Linked DNA regions of Homo sapiens: regions 1, 2 and 4 are each linked to region 3. Evidence: promoter capture Hi-C in 16 types of primary human blood cells and fetal thymus (Javierre and others, 2016). All regions are on one chromosome and are shown on one strand. Each heading gives the region's core, a stretch centred on a gene start or on the middle of the fragment in contact. The rest is flanking DNA. Distances are from core to core; before and after follow the strand shown. Region 1 overlaps TBC1D22B (TBC1 domain family member 22B). Region 2 overlaps TBC1D22B (TBC1 domain family member 22B). Region 3 holds the start of MTCH1 (mitochondrial carrier 1). Region 4 overlaps TBC1D22B (TBC1 domain family member 22B).

What was found. Contacts are between HindIII fragments. The CHiCAGO score rates a contact against its expected background, and 5 or more counts as called.
Region 1: a contact is called between a fragment that was not itself captured here and the fragment with the promoter of MTCH1 in region 3, in 2 of 17 cell types (erythroblasts and megakaryocytes). The highest score is 7.0, in erythroblasts.
Region 2: a contact is called between a fragment that was not itself captured here and the fragment with the promoter of MTCH1 in region 3, in 1 of 17 cell types (erythroblasts). The highest score is 6.2, in erythroblasts.
Region 4: a contact is called between a fragment that was not itself captured here and the fragment with the promoter of MTCH1 in region 3, in 1 of 17 cell types (erythroblasts). The highest score is 5.3, in erythroblasts.

The regions. Positions count from the first base shown.
Region 1 is chr6:37,302,107-37,306,021 of GRCh38, forward strand. All of the region lies in intron 8 of TBC1D22B (TBC1 domain family member 22B), which reads left to right. Among named protein-coding and RNA genes, the nearest start is that of TMEM217B, 46 kb to the left of the region's middle. RefSeq lists a silencer at 2,075-2,124. The HindIII fragment of the contact is 1,731 bases long and covers 741-2,471 here.
Region 2 is chr6:37,318,898-37,322,777 of GRCh38, forward strand. All of the region lies in intron 12 of TBC1D22B (TBC1 domain family member 22B), which reads left to right. Among named protein-coding and RNA genes, the nearest start is that of RNF8, 33 kb to the right of the region's middle. The HindIII fragment of the contact is 6,431 bases long and covers 1-3,880 here.
Region 3 is chr6:36,984,468-36,988,454 of GRCh38, forward strand. MTCH1 (mitochondrial carrier 1) reads right to left here and starts at 1,729. Exons shown (of 12, transcript NM_001271641.2): 1 at 1,386-1,729. The coding sequence starts at 1,706. RefSeq lists enhancers at 1,283-2,005, 2,124-2,333 and a silencer at 1,444-2,033. The HindIII fragment of the contact is 16,171 bases long and covers 144-3,987 here.
Region 4 is chr6:37,281,326-37,285,435 of GRCh38, forward strand. It overlaps TBC1D22B (TBC1 domain family member 22B), which reads left to right. Exons shown (of 13, transcript NM_017772.4): 4 at 860-1,039; 5 at 1,557-1,627; 6 at 3,011-3,139. Among named protein-coding and RNA genes, the nearest start is that of TMEM217B, 25 kb to the left of the region's middle. The HindIII fragment of the contact is 1,538 bases long and covers 2,023-3,560 here.

The sequences.
Region 1 (3,915 bases), core at 356-2,855, 320 kb after region 3:
TTTATGTTATGTTTGTTGTAAAGTAGTTGGAAACAGTGAGTTCCAGTGATTCCCCTGTGAGTTGATAGAGAAGTTGTCTATAGCTCTAGCCTTGCCCCCAAGCAGCTTCTTTATCTGCTGAAGCCAGCTGCTCCTGTAAAAGTGGGTCCTCTGCAGATAAGCCAGCTGTGTCTGGGTCTAGTGGTGACAGTGCTGCAGGTGGGGAGGTCACCCCTGGGGAGATAAAGTCTCTGGAATCTTATCTCTGAGACTGTGGTATAATTCTAAACTCTTTCCTCCAAGAGCTTTTAGGCTTAGGCAATATTAGTCTAGCTCTGAACTACTGAGGTCCAATATAATTGACCATGCAGCCATCATCAAAATAAACTGCTTAACAGGAACAACAGAAGTGATTCATATAAGGAAGTCATGGAGAAGAGCAGGACTTATGATGTTTCCTATTTTCAAAAGAAGAGTGGTGTCTGATGATATTTTTAGGTACAAAATGCAACACCAATTATCAAGTAACCTTTTCTCTTTTCCTTTGCATAAAACAGCACAGTAGGATTTTCACCGTAGATTTTACCTGGAAGCATGACAGCAGTGGAACTCTCGGAAAGGAAGTCCTCCGCAGACCTCTGACTTGTGTCCGGTTCCCTACATGGCATTTCCACCTGATTATGTCATAGATGATCACTTAGGATTAGCTAGGCTGCACATAACAGGGAACCCAAGTAACAGTTCCTTAAGTAAGATAGAAAAGCTTATTTCTCTCACATTAAAAGTCCAGAGGTGAGTGATCTGGGGCTTATCTGCTGCTCCAAAATATCAGAGATCCAGGTTGCTCTCTCTCATTCTGCAGTCTTCAGCATGTGGTTTCTTTCTCATGATCCAAGAGCTGTTTGTGCTCCAGCCATCACATCAATATTCCAGCCAGTATGGAGAAGGAAAGGAAGCAAGGCATACTTCTTCTGTTTAAGAACATTTCTGAAAGCTGTGCATGACTCTGGGGCTTGATTCTCTTTTGTTTGAACTTAATCTCGTGGGCACACCTAGCAGCAAGTGAGGCTGAGAAACAGTCTGTCTTAGGTGGCCAATACACTTAGGGGTCCTGTCACCAAGGAGGAAGAAGGGAACAGTTATTTTTAGGCAATCTTTGCTATTCTTAGGCTCCTCAGACTCGGTGTTTGGCTCTTCTCCTTCCCTTACCCAGGCACCCTTTTCTCTTAGTTGGCAGTATTTCCTGTCACTTAAGTCAGAAATGCTAAGAATTGTTCATGATTCTGTTTCCTTACTCTTCCATATCCAATCATTTACAAAGCTCTGGTGATTTTACGTCCTAAATGTTTCTTAATCTGCTTCTTCTTCATTCTCACTATGCACGCCCTAGGTCAGGCCTGGATTGCTGAACCAGCCAAGCATGTTTTCTCACCCCCGGTTTTATCTCCTTCAAACCCATCTTGCACACCATTCAAACAGAGACTCGCCCACAGAACTCCTCTGACAAAAATCCTTCCTTAGCATTCCATCACCTATAGGTTAAATGTCCAGGTTTTCTAACTTGGCATGTAAAGGCCCTGTGACCTGCTCCCTGCTTCGCCCCTTAAACTCAACAATCCAAAATGGACATTGTAAATGTAAAGCCTTGTCCTGCACCACCTCTTTATCTCCTGAGCTAATCTTTGTGCACCCTTTAAGACTCCCCTTCCTCCTAGAAGCCTTCCCTGGGGTCCCCCTGACCCCCGGCATCTAATAGTGCTATTTCTGTCACTCTGTAGATTTCTCCTGTGGCACTTTACCTCGCTAGTTGTTTGTGTTTCCCTCCTACTCTCTGCCACCAGACTTTCTGATTCTTTGAGGCCAAAGAGTATTTTAAACATCTTCATATCCCCAGTACCTTCATTTTGGTGTCCAAAATAGGCATTCCACACATGTCCAGATGAATGAGAGAATGAAAATTCCATAACTGCAGAATACTCAGAAATTAGTACAGCTTCACTAGGCTTGGCCACTGGAGGGCAGTGAGTTACACTTTTCTGATACTGTGCTGAATTAGCCGAAAGTTCTCTCTCCCCTAAGGGATGGAGGTGGAGCACCACCACTTAGTCAACAAGTCTTTGATGAGCACCCACATGTGCAGGGCACTGCTCTAGGCACTGGGGTTTATGACCATAAACGAAGTAGACAAAAACCCTGCCTTCTACTTCTAGGTATTTATTCAAGGAAAATGAAGGCTTATAGCCCCAAAAGACATGCACAAACATATTCACAGCAACTTTATACAGACATAAAATGAAACAACCCTAATATCAGCTAATATGAGAACAGATATCCATACCACAGAGCAGTACTCAGCAATAAATGAGAACGTACTATTAGTAGTACAGCAACATGGAAGAGTCTCAGAAACCATGAAACAGAATGAAAGAAGCCAGATACCAAAAAATATATATATTGTATGATTCACATTATATGGAGTTAAAAATAGGTAAAGCTTATCTATGGCGATAGAAATGAGAGCAAAGTTTACCTATGGTGGGAGGTGGGCTGAGAATGAGCATAAGGAAACATTTCCGGGGTGATGGAAATATTCTCTATTTGGATGGGGGCATTTTTTTTTTAAACCATAGACATAAACATGTGTCAAGACTCATAGAACTGTGCACATATGTGCAGTTTACTATGCGTAATTCTACTTTTTTAAAAAAATCGCTTTCTTAGTTTAATTTCTGGTGGGCAGAAACAGACAATCAACTGAAAAAACAGATATTTGTAGGATTGAGATAAGTGCTATGGATAGAAACAAAGCAAGAAAGAGGGACAGGGATGTGCCATGCTGGCAAGTGTGGGAGCAGGAGGCAGGTTTTAAACCGGGTGGTGAGCCGCCTTCACACTGAGGAGATGACATTTGAGCAGAGCCCTGAAGGAGGTAAGGGAGGGAGCTGTGCAGTTAATTTTTGATAGTCAACACTCACATTTTCAAAGAAAAGGTAGTGTGGATCCTGTTGTCTTGTCTTGCTCCTGGGCTGTTGTGGATTGTGCTCGCCCCCCACGCTCAGTCCTGGGAGGCGGCATCCTCCATCTTACATCTGACTCTTTGCATCAGCTTTGCCCAGTCTGTTCCTCCCTGTCTGGCTAGGCCAAAGATGAAACTGGACAAACTTTATTATTGTCTCAAGAGGCCATTCCTTTTCTGCTTTTTAAAATGTGAACTTCATATTAAATCATACATTTAGAAAAGTGCATCTGTCATACATGCACAGTTCGATGAATTTCCCCAAAATAACCAGCACTCACAGCAAGACGTGGAACGTTTCTAGGACTTCAGAAGTCCCTTTGTGTTCCCTCCTAGTCCCTACCCCGTCCTCTCCTCCCCTGCCCCTACAAGGGTAACTACTTTACTGATTTCTAACACCTAGATTAGTTTTGCCTATTTCCTTTTTTTTTTTTGAGACGGAGTGTTGCTCTGTCCCCCAGGCTGGAGTGCAGTGGCGCAATCTTGGCTCACTGCAAGCTCTGCCTCCCGGGTTCACGCCATTCTCCTGCCTCAGCCTCCCGAGTAGCTGGGACTACAGGCGCCCGCCACCACGCCTGGCTATTATTTTTTTGTATTTTTAGTAGAGACAAGGTTTCACTGTGTTAGCCAGAATGGTCTCGATCTCCTGACCTCGTGATCCACCCGTCTCGGCCTCCCAAAGTGCTAGGATTACAGGCGTCAGCCACCGCGCCCGGTCAGTTTTGCCTATTTCTAAGCTTTATCTAATTTGAATCATATAGTAAGAATTTTCCACTTTAATGTTGTTAGTTTGGAGGGAATTGGTGGGGAGTGGGCTTGATGCTGAGTTTTTAGCAGCCACCCTATTTGGGACTCAAGCTGCCTCCTGGCCCCATCTTCGTAGATGAAGCAGCCTCCCATGTGATAGGCAGCTGAGAAAT
Region 2 (3,880 bases), core at 630-3,129, 330 kb after region 3:
TTTGGTTTGTTTGTTTTTAATAGGTATATACCTCTTTTAAAAGCAGGGGGAAAAGCCAGAGAAAGTTGAATGCTTTTCTAAGTTCTAACTAATAACATAGATGTTCTGAAGAGTGGCAGCGTCTCCATGTGATCCCTGAGCATTACCACTCTGTGATTGGTGTTAGGGGGCAAAAGAACAGAAGACTATTTAGTAGATAGATGGAAAGACAGGACCCAGCTTGCCCAAGTAAGGGCTTTGGAAGAAAAAGGAGAGCAGATGCATTGACTTCTGTGAGTAGATGCTAGCCATGGTGCCGAGGCTTCAGGCCACTGATTAAGAACCATGGCTTCTGCCAGTGAGCAGCATGTGTGGCATTCCAGGATAAATGAGGACAAGGGGCTGGAATGGCTGTATGCTGGGATGAGCTATCCATTTGGATAATGTGGTTGAGGTGGAGCCGGATAGTAAGAGCATGAAGTTTAATTTAGTTATCATGAGCCAGGCTCAGAGCTTTGCCATATGTGATAAAAGTGCTTCCCAGATCAGCTCAGGGAGGTGCAGATGATTCCTGGAATGGCTTTTAGCAGTTCACAATATCGGCAGAACAGAGGACAATACTCTGTGACTTTACAGCTATGTTAATCCTAGAGATATTCTTTACTGGGTAGCATTTTCAATTATCTGGTAGGTCTGAGGCCTTTTGGCAATACCCAACAGAACAGCATTGGAGGCTATTGTCTGCTGCTGTATTAACACCTCGATTAATCCTGTTTGTGGAAGAGTCTCACATCTTTCTTTTAGACAAAATAGAATGGGCGATTAAACTGGATAAGGTGAAAAGTTCCTCCCACCTCCATAGTTCTAAAATTCTATGAATGATAAAAGAAGAAAATGTGCCTGGGTGTTAGGCTAGACAGGCAGTGTCCTTTAGGAGACAGAATCATGGCAGAGGTGTGAGGAACAAGGGCACAAAGCATTGTGTAAGGTTGTGAACTGTTGGGTGTGACTTTTGCAGAGAAAGTAGGCACATGTATCCTAACTGCTGAAGGGCTGCTTGTAGTGAAATCACTGTGAAGGAAGCTCTGTAGATGAATACAGGTATTGTAAAAAACCAAACATGTCCAGCCTAGGAGAGAAGTTTTAGGGCTAAAAGCCACGTTAAGTGACTCAGAGAAAAACCAGCTGAAGTGGTTACAGAAATAAAAGTGGTAGTTGCAGCAGTTTTAGCAGACCAGCAAACTGGTTACACTTGAAGAACAGGGAAAAAGAGCCAGATATAAAGGGAGCCAGTAAGGGGTTCAGAGAGGAAGCAGATATCTTCCTGTCAAGGTTAGGGACTGTGCAGAGTAGTACAGTGGTTAAACCATGGTCTTTGGAGCCAGACTGCCTGGGGTCGGATCCCAGCTCTCACACTTTCCTAAACATGCAGCTGTAAGTAAGTAACTTGTTTCTCTGTGCCTCCGTTTTCTTATCTATAAATGGGGCAATAGTACCTACCTCCTTGGGCTATGATGAGAATAAAGAAACAAATACATGTGAGACAGTTAGAATAGTGTACTTGATATATAGACCTCGAAACAGTGAGCTTATTATCATTAATATTAATACTTCCTTTAGTGTATTCACGAGTCCTGGAAGCAATGAGGCGAGCTTTAAAAACCCACTTTTCTAATTAAGTGGTTTTTAACATAATGAGTAAACCATACAAGGTTCATACTGAGGGAAACTGGTTTGGAGAGGAGGCATCAGAGTACACAGGGGCAAAGGGCTGGGTCCCAGCTGCGACAAAAGCCCCCAGCAGGAAGGGTGCGTGCTTCTCCCTGGCCAAGCAGTTGTCTAGGGCCGCTGCCTGGCAGAGAGGACCAAAAACTGACAAAGGAGATCACACTGAGAGGTTTCCTTCCTGAGACCGCTGGGCAAAGGAGCCTGAGGCACATTTGCACATAGTACTCTGGGAGCAGAATGGCTGGATCCTCCGGGCCCGTGGCAGCTTGAAATGCGAGCTGCCAGCAGAGCTGGGCCAAAGCCTCTTTTGTGGTAGGTGGGGACTCTTGACAATTCCTGCCCTCAGCCTGGGCTAGTGTAATAGAATCATAATAATATGTTAGGTTGAATCATATGCAGTTGTTTTTGTAGATTAAAATGGTTGAATATTGGCAATTTCGTGAGGCTCAATCTAATAGCAGCTAATTCTTAGCACTTTGAATATACAGGCACTATTCTAAATGTTTTCCTGTGTTAATTCATTTCATCCTTGCAACAATCCTACAAGGTAGGCTATAATACCCCATTTTACAAATGGGGAAACTGTCATAGCAAGATTTTTTTTTTTTAAGTAACCAGGCCAAGGTCACCTGAGTGAGTGATAGAGGCCTGGAATCCACTCTCTGAACCACTGTGCTTTGCTGCCTGTCAGTCCCAGGCCTGCCAGATGCTTCCTGGAGCTCTTGAGCTAAACTTACATGGTGGCTGTTCCCAGGCAAGGATCTGCTTAGGTTTCCACCTCCCTCAAGATTTCTTCTTCCCCATCTCTCCCCCTACATTGGAGGTTGCTAGCAGGCTTTCTTCTCACAAAGAAACATTTAGCAACAACAACAAAAACTTGTTGTTTTAAAACTGAAAAAGAATTCCTCCCAGGGTCTTCCTTGTGACCTCCTCCTATTCTGGCTTCTGGGTTTTTCTCCTTCCACTGCCAGAAAGATCTGTGATCTCCTGCTGCCCTTTCATGCTCTCCCTCCAAGTGGCCTGAAATCACCTAACACACATCCCTGGGGAAAGCAGAGGCTCTAATGCTCCAGGGTGGACTGCAGCAGGGAGCCCCCAGGGCTGGTGCAGGTTATGGGTGAAGAGCAGCTCTGGGCCTGTCTGTGGAGTCCTAGAGCCTGCTTGGGCCCTTGTGGAGCTCTCAGGCTTCTGTTAGATCAGTGGCTGGGGAGGCCGTGTTGACTGGGGAGGAGCATGAGTCTCTGAGACACAAGAAGTGTTCTCTGTTTTCATCTGGGTGGTGGTTAATTGGGTGTGTACTTATGTAAAAAGTCATCAACCTGCATGCTTAAGATTTATGTCATGAGTCCACCCTCAAAAGGTTGGGAGGAAAGTAAATGGTGGAGACAATGTAAGAGCGCTCGAACCTACCTACCAAATAGACAAATAGATGTTTTCTACCCATTTTGATGTGGGTCATTTTTACATAATCACAATTCATTACCACCATGTACAGTTGTGTACTACTAAGGAAGTGAATGGAGCTTCTGTTACCCAGCAGTGAGCCTGAAGAGGACTGTATCTGCCCAGAGGACAGGGCCATCTGGGCTAGCAATAGGAGGCCTGTCAGGGCCTCCTGTTGCCACTCTGGTCCTAGAAAAAGGAATTAAGAGGCCAGGCACGGTGGCTTATGCCTGTAATCCCAGCACTTTGGGAGGCCACGGCAGGCAGATCACCTGAGGTCAGGAGTTCAAGACCAGCCTGGCCAACGTGGTGAAACTCCGTCAGCCAGGTGTGATGGCACACACCTGTAATCCCAGCTACTCGGGAAGCTGAGGCAGGAGAATCGCTTGAACCTGGGAGGCGGAGATTGCAGTGAGCCGAGATCGTGCCAGTGCACTCCAGCCAGGGCAGCAAAGTGAGACTCTGTCTCAAAAAAAGAAAAAGAAAAAGGAAGTAAGCAAAGGGAACTTTTGAGGGAACAAGGCTGGAGCCTGTGAGTGCTGAGAGACCTGCTATCCCCATAGGTGTTTGTAATAAAAACATGTTTTTATTCCCAACACCCATTGGCAGAATATGCCATCAAGGCAGGTTGCAGTTGTCAGACTTGGGGAAGACTTCCCAAAGCAGATTAATGTCAGACCTCGGGACAGGAACTGGTTGAGTGAGTTCTGTGATGAGGAAAGGCGTGACA
Region 3 (3,987 bases), core at 479-2,978:
ACTCTCATTCTCAAGGCCTTCTCATTCCAGTTGTATTTTGCATTCTCTCGGTTCAATTATAAAGATGGTAAAATCTGACACCCACCTGCCTCAACTCAAATCTTGGATGGGTCTCCAATTCAATTTTTACCTTCCTCCCCCCAAGCTTCTTAACTGGAAAATTCTGGCCTAATGACCCCCATCAAAACTGTACCCATCCCAGCCACACCCACCTAATTCTCACACCTCCACACGCCCTTCATTCCAGCTCACTCCTCAAGCAGCACACTTCATCTGTACCGCATTGCTGGCCACCACCAAATCTGCCAAGTGCCTATGCATCCCTCTGTTCCAGAGACATCCCTACCTCGGTCTCAATTTCTGGTAGTCCCTACCTATCCTGCCACCTATGTCTCCACTGTCCCTTCTGCCCAATTTCAATACTCCCGTGCCCCTTCTCCTCATCTGCCCAGATACAAGCACTGTGATTCCTCTCTCTGACCCCAACTATGACTTCCATTTCCTCCTCCAAATGCGTCATCCCCCTTCCCCGCTTAAAGCCTCCTCCTAGCTCCCCTCTCTAGACAAATCGCTGCCACTCCCCTCCCCCAATGCTGGCCCTATCTGTTCCCCTCCCCCCATACGCGTCACCCTGTCCCCTCCTCCTACCAAATCCGTCGTCGCCATCAAATCCAGAGCCCCCATCTCCGGTAAACCGATAGCATTCCCCTGCAAAAGTCTTTGCCTTCGCACTCTCCCACCAAATTAAATCACAATGCAACCCAAGACCTCCGTCTCCTCTGTCCACCCCCAGTCTGGTGTCCTTCTTTCCCTCCTAAATTTCTGGCCCTGGCGCCCACTTTGTCCCCACCCCAAGACGTTTTAAATCCATCTCTATCAAATCCAGAGCCTCCGTTCCCCTCTACCCCAATTATGTGCTCCTCATTCTCTAAACACTTTGCCTGGGCCCCCAACCTTCCTCCCCATCTCTTCACCCAAACTTCTTGCCCCTCCCCCAATTCTATTGCTTCTTCCCTCGCCCCAAATTCGCTCCCTTCCCTATCCCAAGTCCATCGTCCCCACTCCTTTATCTCCCAAATATGTTTTTCCAGCCCATCGCTCCCTCCTTGGCACTCCCCCAAATCGCTTGTTCCTTCCACCCTCTCCCGTATCTGTTATTACTCTAACCCCTTGGTCTCCTTTCTGTATCCTAAAACCCGTGACCCCTGCGTTCCCAACTCCCTCACGGCTTCCCTCCCATCCCACCCACTCGGCCCCCCAAACCCGCCGTCCCCACCCCTCTCCCCAAATCCGTCGCCATTGACTGCCCGCCCCAATCCTCCAAATCCTGGCCTGTCACCTTCACATCAGCCTCCCATCTCCCTACGGCGCCTCTGGTCCCCCACCTGGATGAGCAGCTTCACGTAGAGCAGGGGATGGCTGAGCGCCGTCACGCCCGCGCCCAGTGCCACGAAAAGAGCCTCAGTGGTCGGGGCGTTGTCCCCAGACCCCAGGCCCCCTGACCCGCCATCCATCCTGCGGGCCGAGGGCTGAGCCGCAGGCCGAGGGTGGCGAGGATGTGCGCGGTGCGCGGGCGGTGGATCGCGAGCTCGAGCCTCGACCCCCGCCGCCGCTCCGCCGCGAGCTCCGGCTCCAGCTCCGGCTCCCGCCATCCCCGCGGCACCGCCGCGAGCCCAGGGCGCCACTTCCGGGTCCGAAGCTCCCATGGCGCCCGGCGGCGAGGTCACTCCCCGTCACGTGACGGGGCCACGCCCCCTCACCGGCGTCAGGGGGCGGGGCCGGGGCGCACCACTCCAGGCCGCGGGGGAGCTCGGGAGCGTGGTGCGGCGGGTGGGACACGCCGGATGTGGCTCCCCGGCCGGTTGGAGGCCTAGCAGGACACTGGGCTGCGGGCCGGGGGTCAATGGTGGCGGGCAGCCGGGGCCCCGGGCTCGGGAGCTGTGGCGGCAGCCGCAGGCCGGGGCGCTCCCCCGGGATGCCCAGAGCACGCGGGGGCGGGGTTCGGCGCCTCTGGCTGCCAGACGTCCCCAATATGGTCTGAGGCGCTTCCAAGCCACCTCCCTGGCTTCGGGAGTTTTCTCTGCAGTTCTCTGCCCGCCCCTTTGCGGCCCAGATCCCAGTCGCCGCGGCCTGCGTGGAACTCTGCGCGAGCTGAATCTCCTGCTGCAGGACGAGCCCCGACCCCGAGCCCGATCCCCTCCGCGGTCCCAGCCTCTTTGTCCGATCGCATTTTCCATCTCCTCTGCCAGGAATGCTCTCCCAACCAGAGCAAATCCAGATGTCCCCTCGGCGACTGTGGGCACCCTCCCCAGCTGTGGAGCCTTCGCACGCCTTCCTCAGAGTCCGTGGTTGTAAAATTTGTTTTGCTCTAAAGTATTTGACTGTCTCCCTCACTAGATCCTGAGGGTTTTAGTGAGTGCCTCAGTGTGAGCACATGCAGGCACTGCTAGGCGCCTGTAGTTGATTCTTAGTTAATACAAGTGAATAATCACAACTAGACCTTAAATTGCAGGGACTATGTGACAGGCACTTTTTAAAATGCTTTATACGTGTTGATTTAAGTGTAATCGTCACAAGAACCCTGCGAGGAAGATAGGACAGCAAGTGCCCTGTTCCTGTTTGTAAACGTGCCCGACACTCTGCAACAACACCTACAACAGAACCGTGCTAGTTTTGGGGGTTCGCAATAAAAGTTTCTGTTTGAACGGATCCTAGAGTGTGCAGGGACACAGCAATGGAAGACCTGGTCCCTTTGTCTGTACTTAGTCTATAGCCAGTTCATTGTGAGAAATTTCTTTAGATCGACACCTGCCACTGTTAGTCCGGGTTTCCCAGTCTGTCCTTTCTAACTCCCTTCCTGCCTTACCCCCTAAAAAGCTACCTCCCCTCTTCCCACTCCTGATAATGAACACTATGTACTTTCCACGTTCAAAGCATGCCACACTCCCTCTCTCCCTCACCTTGGCCTCCCTAACCCAGGCTTGTCCTAGTGAAATCACTTGCAAAGCCTGCTAACCCTTTCAACTTGCTGTGTTTTCTCCATCAAACACAATTTTCATCAAACATCCCCCAGGAGCACCTTAAATGACTTCCTTTTGCCTAGGTTCTGATTTAGCTTTCTCAATAAGGACCTCAAAGTCAAGTTCCTAGTGCCACACTAACTCTCTACCCAGAAGAGGCGATAGGTTTTAGTTTGGGGGTGGGGGGTGGGGGTAGGGGAGGATGATTTACTTCCCCATCCTTCTGAAACTTCCTCACAGGAACCTTTTCCTTCTTTGGGCTTTTCGTCCCCATTTTTCTCCAACTGTCTGTTTTTCTTTCTGAACTTGGCTGTTCACCGTTGAGCCTTTTACTCTGCCTTACATGGTCACCTAACTTTGGGCCTATACTGTATTTGGCCCTTTCAAACTGTAGTTTCATGTGAAGCAGCAACTTTGTGTTGTCTTGCATTGTTTTGTATCTTCCACAACATCAGATATAGGACTATGCACATAGTACATGTTCAGTAAAGTATTTCTAAATGATCGAACAATTTCTCCAAGTGAAGAAATTGAAGGAAAAATAGATCAGCTAAACCAGTTAGACCCGTAGGGTACCAAGCAGAAGCAAATGTTAAACTGCACAATAGCTGTATTTCTACAACTCAGGGCTCACAGAGACTCCAAGAGGAAGAAAAAAAGAATCCTCACAATAAAAAATGTATGAGCCGCTCAAAGAAACGTGCCATCATGAGAGAGAATGGGCAAAACAGGAAGAACTTGAGATAATAGAACCATCTCAAAGAAAATTAAAAGGAAAGAAGTAGGTTTCAAATGAAGGCAAAGATAAATAATAGGAAGTACTAGTAAAAAGAACAGGAATTGTAAAGGAAAAAAAAAAACAGGTGTATTTGAAAAGGTGCCAAACAGAACATCTAGAAATGAAAAGTATACTCACTGAAATGATTGAATGAAAGAAAATCTTCCTCAGCAGTCAAGCTACTGAGCA
Region 4 (4,110 bases), core at 1,542-4,041, 300 kb after region 3:
CATATGAAGCACTCAATATACGTGAGTCCTCTACTGCTTATTCCCCCTACCCACTATCTAGTGTAGAAATGTCAAGAACAAGACAGAGTTCAGTTTGAGTCTTTGTTTGTTATTTCAGTCATATCTTGGCAGAATTAAGAACTGGTTGATTTTGGTGGGAAATGTAGGAGCACAAAGGAACCGCAGCCACCAAAGGCAGGATTGCCTTAGGCCAGAGCTTCTCACCATTGTGCAGGGCACACTGGTGGGCCAAGAACCGGGTACAGGATGTGCGGGGATATTGATCCTTTTAGTCCTTGGAGCAGCTGGGGGTTCTGGGGCTTGTGGAGAGCAACCACCTCCATTTATTGCAGCCTTGTGCTTTGTGGTGTCATCTGCAGTGTCATCATTCCTTATGTGCTCTGTGGTGTGGAATGGGAAGGAAAACACTGCCTTAGACTAAACTAAACTCACTATTTGGCACCAAGAAAAGTTCCAAGTTAGGGTAGAAAGAAAACATTTGATTTTCCTTTAGAGTCACCAAAAAAGTTCTCAAAAGTTGCTGCAGCATCTGGAGTCTCTGTTAGCACCTTTAGAGTCACCAAAAAAGTTCTCAAAAGTTGCTGCAGCATCTGGCGTCTCTGTTACCACCTAAGGTGCCTTGGTGTGTTTGATATAAATGCAGCCCTTTCTCTGGGCAGTGAATGGGGTGTGGCTGGGTTCTGGCCCCTCGCTGCCCTTCAGCTGGGCACCTCAGACAGTGCACACAGGCAGCCACACCCTTGGGGAGGAAACACAATGCTGAACGGTTAGGTTTAAGGCTTCTCAGAATCCATACTCCTCACACAGCCCGTTCTCTTTCTTTTTCAAATGATCTCAGGTGATACATGCCTGAGGAACCCACTCCACAAACAGCAATCACTCCCTCTCCGGCCCATCATCCCCCTCGTTGCCCGGATCTCGGATCAGAACGCTTCTGGGGCCCCCCCAATGACTGTCCGGGAGAAAACCCGCCTAGAAAAATTCCGTCAACTTCTCTCCAGCCAGAACACTGACTTAGGTGAGTCCCTGTGAGCCCAGGCAAGGTAGGAGCTTTGGGTGACTGGAATTCTCAGAGACCTGGAAGCTACTGCTCTTTATTCTTCCTTCTTTTACTTTTCTAGCTTCTCCTGACCTGGTGCCCATTGCAGTGACATGCAGGTATTAAGTCAGACATATGTTACTAGAGATTATGGACCAAATTAGGTGGGACTGGTTTCTGTGGCCTGTAGACCCTAGTGCAACTATTCTGACTTTGGTCTTCCTTATCTCAAGGTGACTCTTACTGAAATCTACACCCACTGGTCTTTCCCTTCCCCTCTAACTTTCATCTCTGAGCTGACAGGACTGCTACTGCAAGGCCGTGTCCTTGGCACTTAGCTGCTCGGGGCTGTTTTGGGCTTTTCACTGTGCTTATGGGTAGCAGGTGGTGGTGGTGGTCTTACATGGATGGAAGGAGACATCAGGCAGTGCTGGTTGCGGTTTGCTTTAGAGCATTTGTGGAGAGTTAACCTAACAAGGCTGTTTTCTATTTACAGATGAACTGAGGAAGTGTAGCTGGCCAGGGGTTCCCAGGGAGGTTCGACCTATAACCTGGAGACTCCTGTCGGTGAGTTCTACCCACTGTGTAGAGAAATGTGAGCCTCACACAGCCCTTCTTGCCTGATGAGGTTAGTCTGGACACATTGGTCTTAACTCCATAGACTTCTCTAGTCCTACTGGATATGACAGAACTATGGGACTATAGTCCTATTTCTGTGCATAAAGAAATACATTCTTGAGAGTTTATTCACACACATGTAGTGGTACACAGACTTGTACCAATAGTCATGGTGTCATGTTCTTAACAGCGAGGAAGAAGAATAGAGTGAGATAGGGTGATCCCAGCACTTGCTTTGAGTAAGCTCCAACGTTCCCTGTGCTTCACTCCTGTTTCAGCCGGAATAACCAAAAGTTGAAACCCACTTTGATCTGTGAAGAGTTGATAAATTGGCCTCCCTTGGAAGCTTTACTAGTCCTGCTTTCACCAAGTACAGAGCACTGTGCCAGCCGCTATGATAGAAACACTTGGGTTTCCTGAGCCTGTAAAATTCATTCATTCATCTAGTGAGGATTTATTGAGAGCCTGCTGTTTGCCAGGCATAGTGCCAGATGCTTTGAGCAGATGCAAAAATGAATAAACCACAGTCCCCACTCTCCAGGCACTCACTGCAGAATGCATTACATAAATGTTTTCAAGAAGAAGGGTCTGTCTCCTGACTGCTCGCCCCCACCTCTACTCTTGCAACCATGCAATCATTGCCTCTGCCACTTCTAATAAGTTTGAATACTATTCAGAGTAGATTTGGTGAGAACGGAAGGGGAACAGAAAATATAAGAATGAGAGTGGGATCTAGACCAGGGATAAGAATGAAAGTTGGCCTGGAGCTTTGGCTAGGCCGGGGGCTGCTGCCAGAAGTTCTGTCTGAGTGTTGTAGCTGTATGTCACAGATTCCATTCAGCTGCTTCCTAAGCTGGTAATTCTGAAAGTTACACTGGAAAAGAATGTAACTGGCACCAACTTACTTGGCACACTGCTGAGATGTGCTGTAGAGGTTGCTATATCCCTGCATTTCTCAGAAGTATGGCCCTGGACACACACAGCCCTCCGAGGCCATGACTTGGGTCCAGCTCCCTCCCACTGACCTACATTCACTGCTGTACTGTGCCAGCTCTGGGAGCTGAGGAGTGCTCACCAGTGGCACAAGCTCCAGCACAGTGCAGGGCCAAGGGAGTAAATAATCCTGGGAAAGCTGGCCTTGCTTCATCTGCTCACATGTGGATCTCATTGAATGAGGAGAGGGCAAAAAATGGGTGGCCAGAACCAAAAAGGGATTTACCCTTGGCAGTTTTCCTTCTTGGTAGTTTCCAAACCACTGCATAGATTAAAATAAAAATTAAGGATTTATCCAACCATTGTCTTTCCCCATCTGACCAGCAGTCTTGTCTATAGGGCTATCTCCCAGCAAACACTGAGAGGAGGAAGTTGACCCTGCAGCGGAAGCGGGAGGAATATTTTGGCTTCATTGAACAGTATTATGACTCTCGAAACGAGGAACATCACCAGGATACCTACAGACAGGTACAGTCACCACCTGCTGCCTCTTTGCTTACCAGTCATATACTTTAGGTATGTCTCATGGTAGTGCTCTCAGGGTACAGGCTTTCCAAGTCTTCAGGCTGTGGTATATTGGTTAGGAGTTAAATTTATCCTCAAAACTGTTTCCCCTCTTTTCATTCAGCAACTCTGATTTTAGCCATTTTAAATAGACAGACTTTTTTGGCACTAGTCAGTGCACTGCTTCTCAAACTTTAATGTACATACAAATCACCTAGGATCTTGATAAGATCTCACCTAGAGATTATGAGAAAATGCAGATTCTGATTTAGCAGGTCTCAGGTAAAGCCTGAAGTTCTGATGTGCTCCCTTGCAATGCTGCTGCTGCTGGTCCACCAACCACACTGTGAGTAGTAAGCGTTATCGAGCATGGAGAGGAAAGACAAGCTTACCTAGCCGTGGTCCAGTCCCTCTGGACTATGACATCAGTATGTCTTCCTGGCAGCTGCACTGCTGTTTTGGCATCTGTGACTGTAGGAGCTGTAGCTTTCAGTAGTCTTGTCAGGGAGTCTTCTGTCATTGCCCATAATGGTCCTCATGGTCTGCGGAAAGGTCTGCTCCCAACATCACATGTGGAGGGAGGAGAAGAGTAGGCCAGGGGTTGCAGAAAGTGGAAGGTGGGCAGCTATTTACAACAAGCCTCAAGAACTGAAGTAGCCTCTGCTGCTGCTGCTGCTGACACAGTCTTTTGCATAGTTAGACTGGGCACTGGGAAATCCCTGAGTTGAAATGGACTATAGTGATGTCTTAGGTAACAGAAGTAAGAACTTTCAGCTTCAGTTACTGAAGGCCAACTCCTTTTGGTCCTTCCCCACTTTTTTTTTTTTTTTTTTTTTTTTTTTGAGATGGAGTCTCACTCTGTCGTCCAGGCTGGAGTGCAGTGGCGTGATCTTGGCTCACTGCAGCCCCCACCTCCTGGATTCAGGTGATTCTCC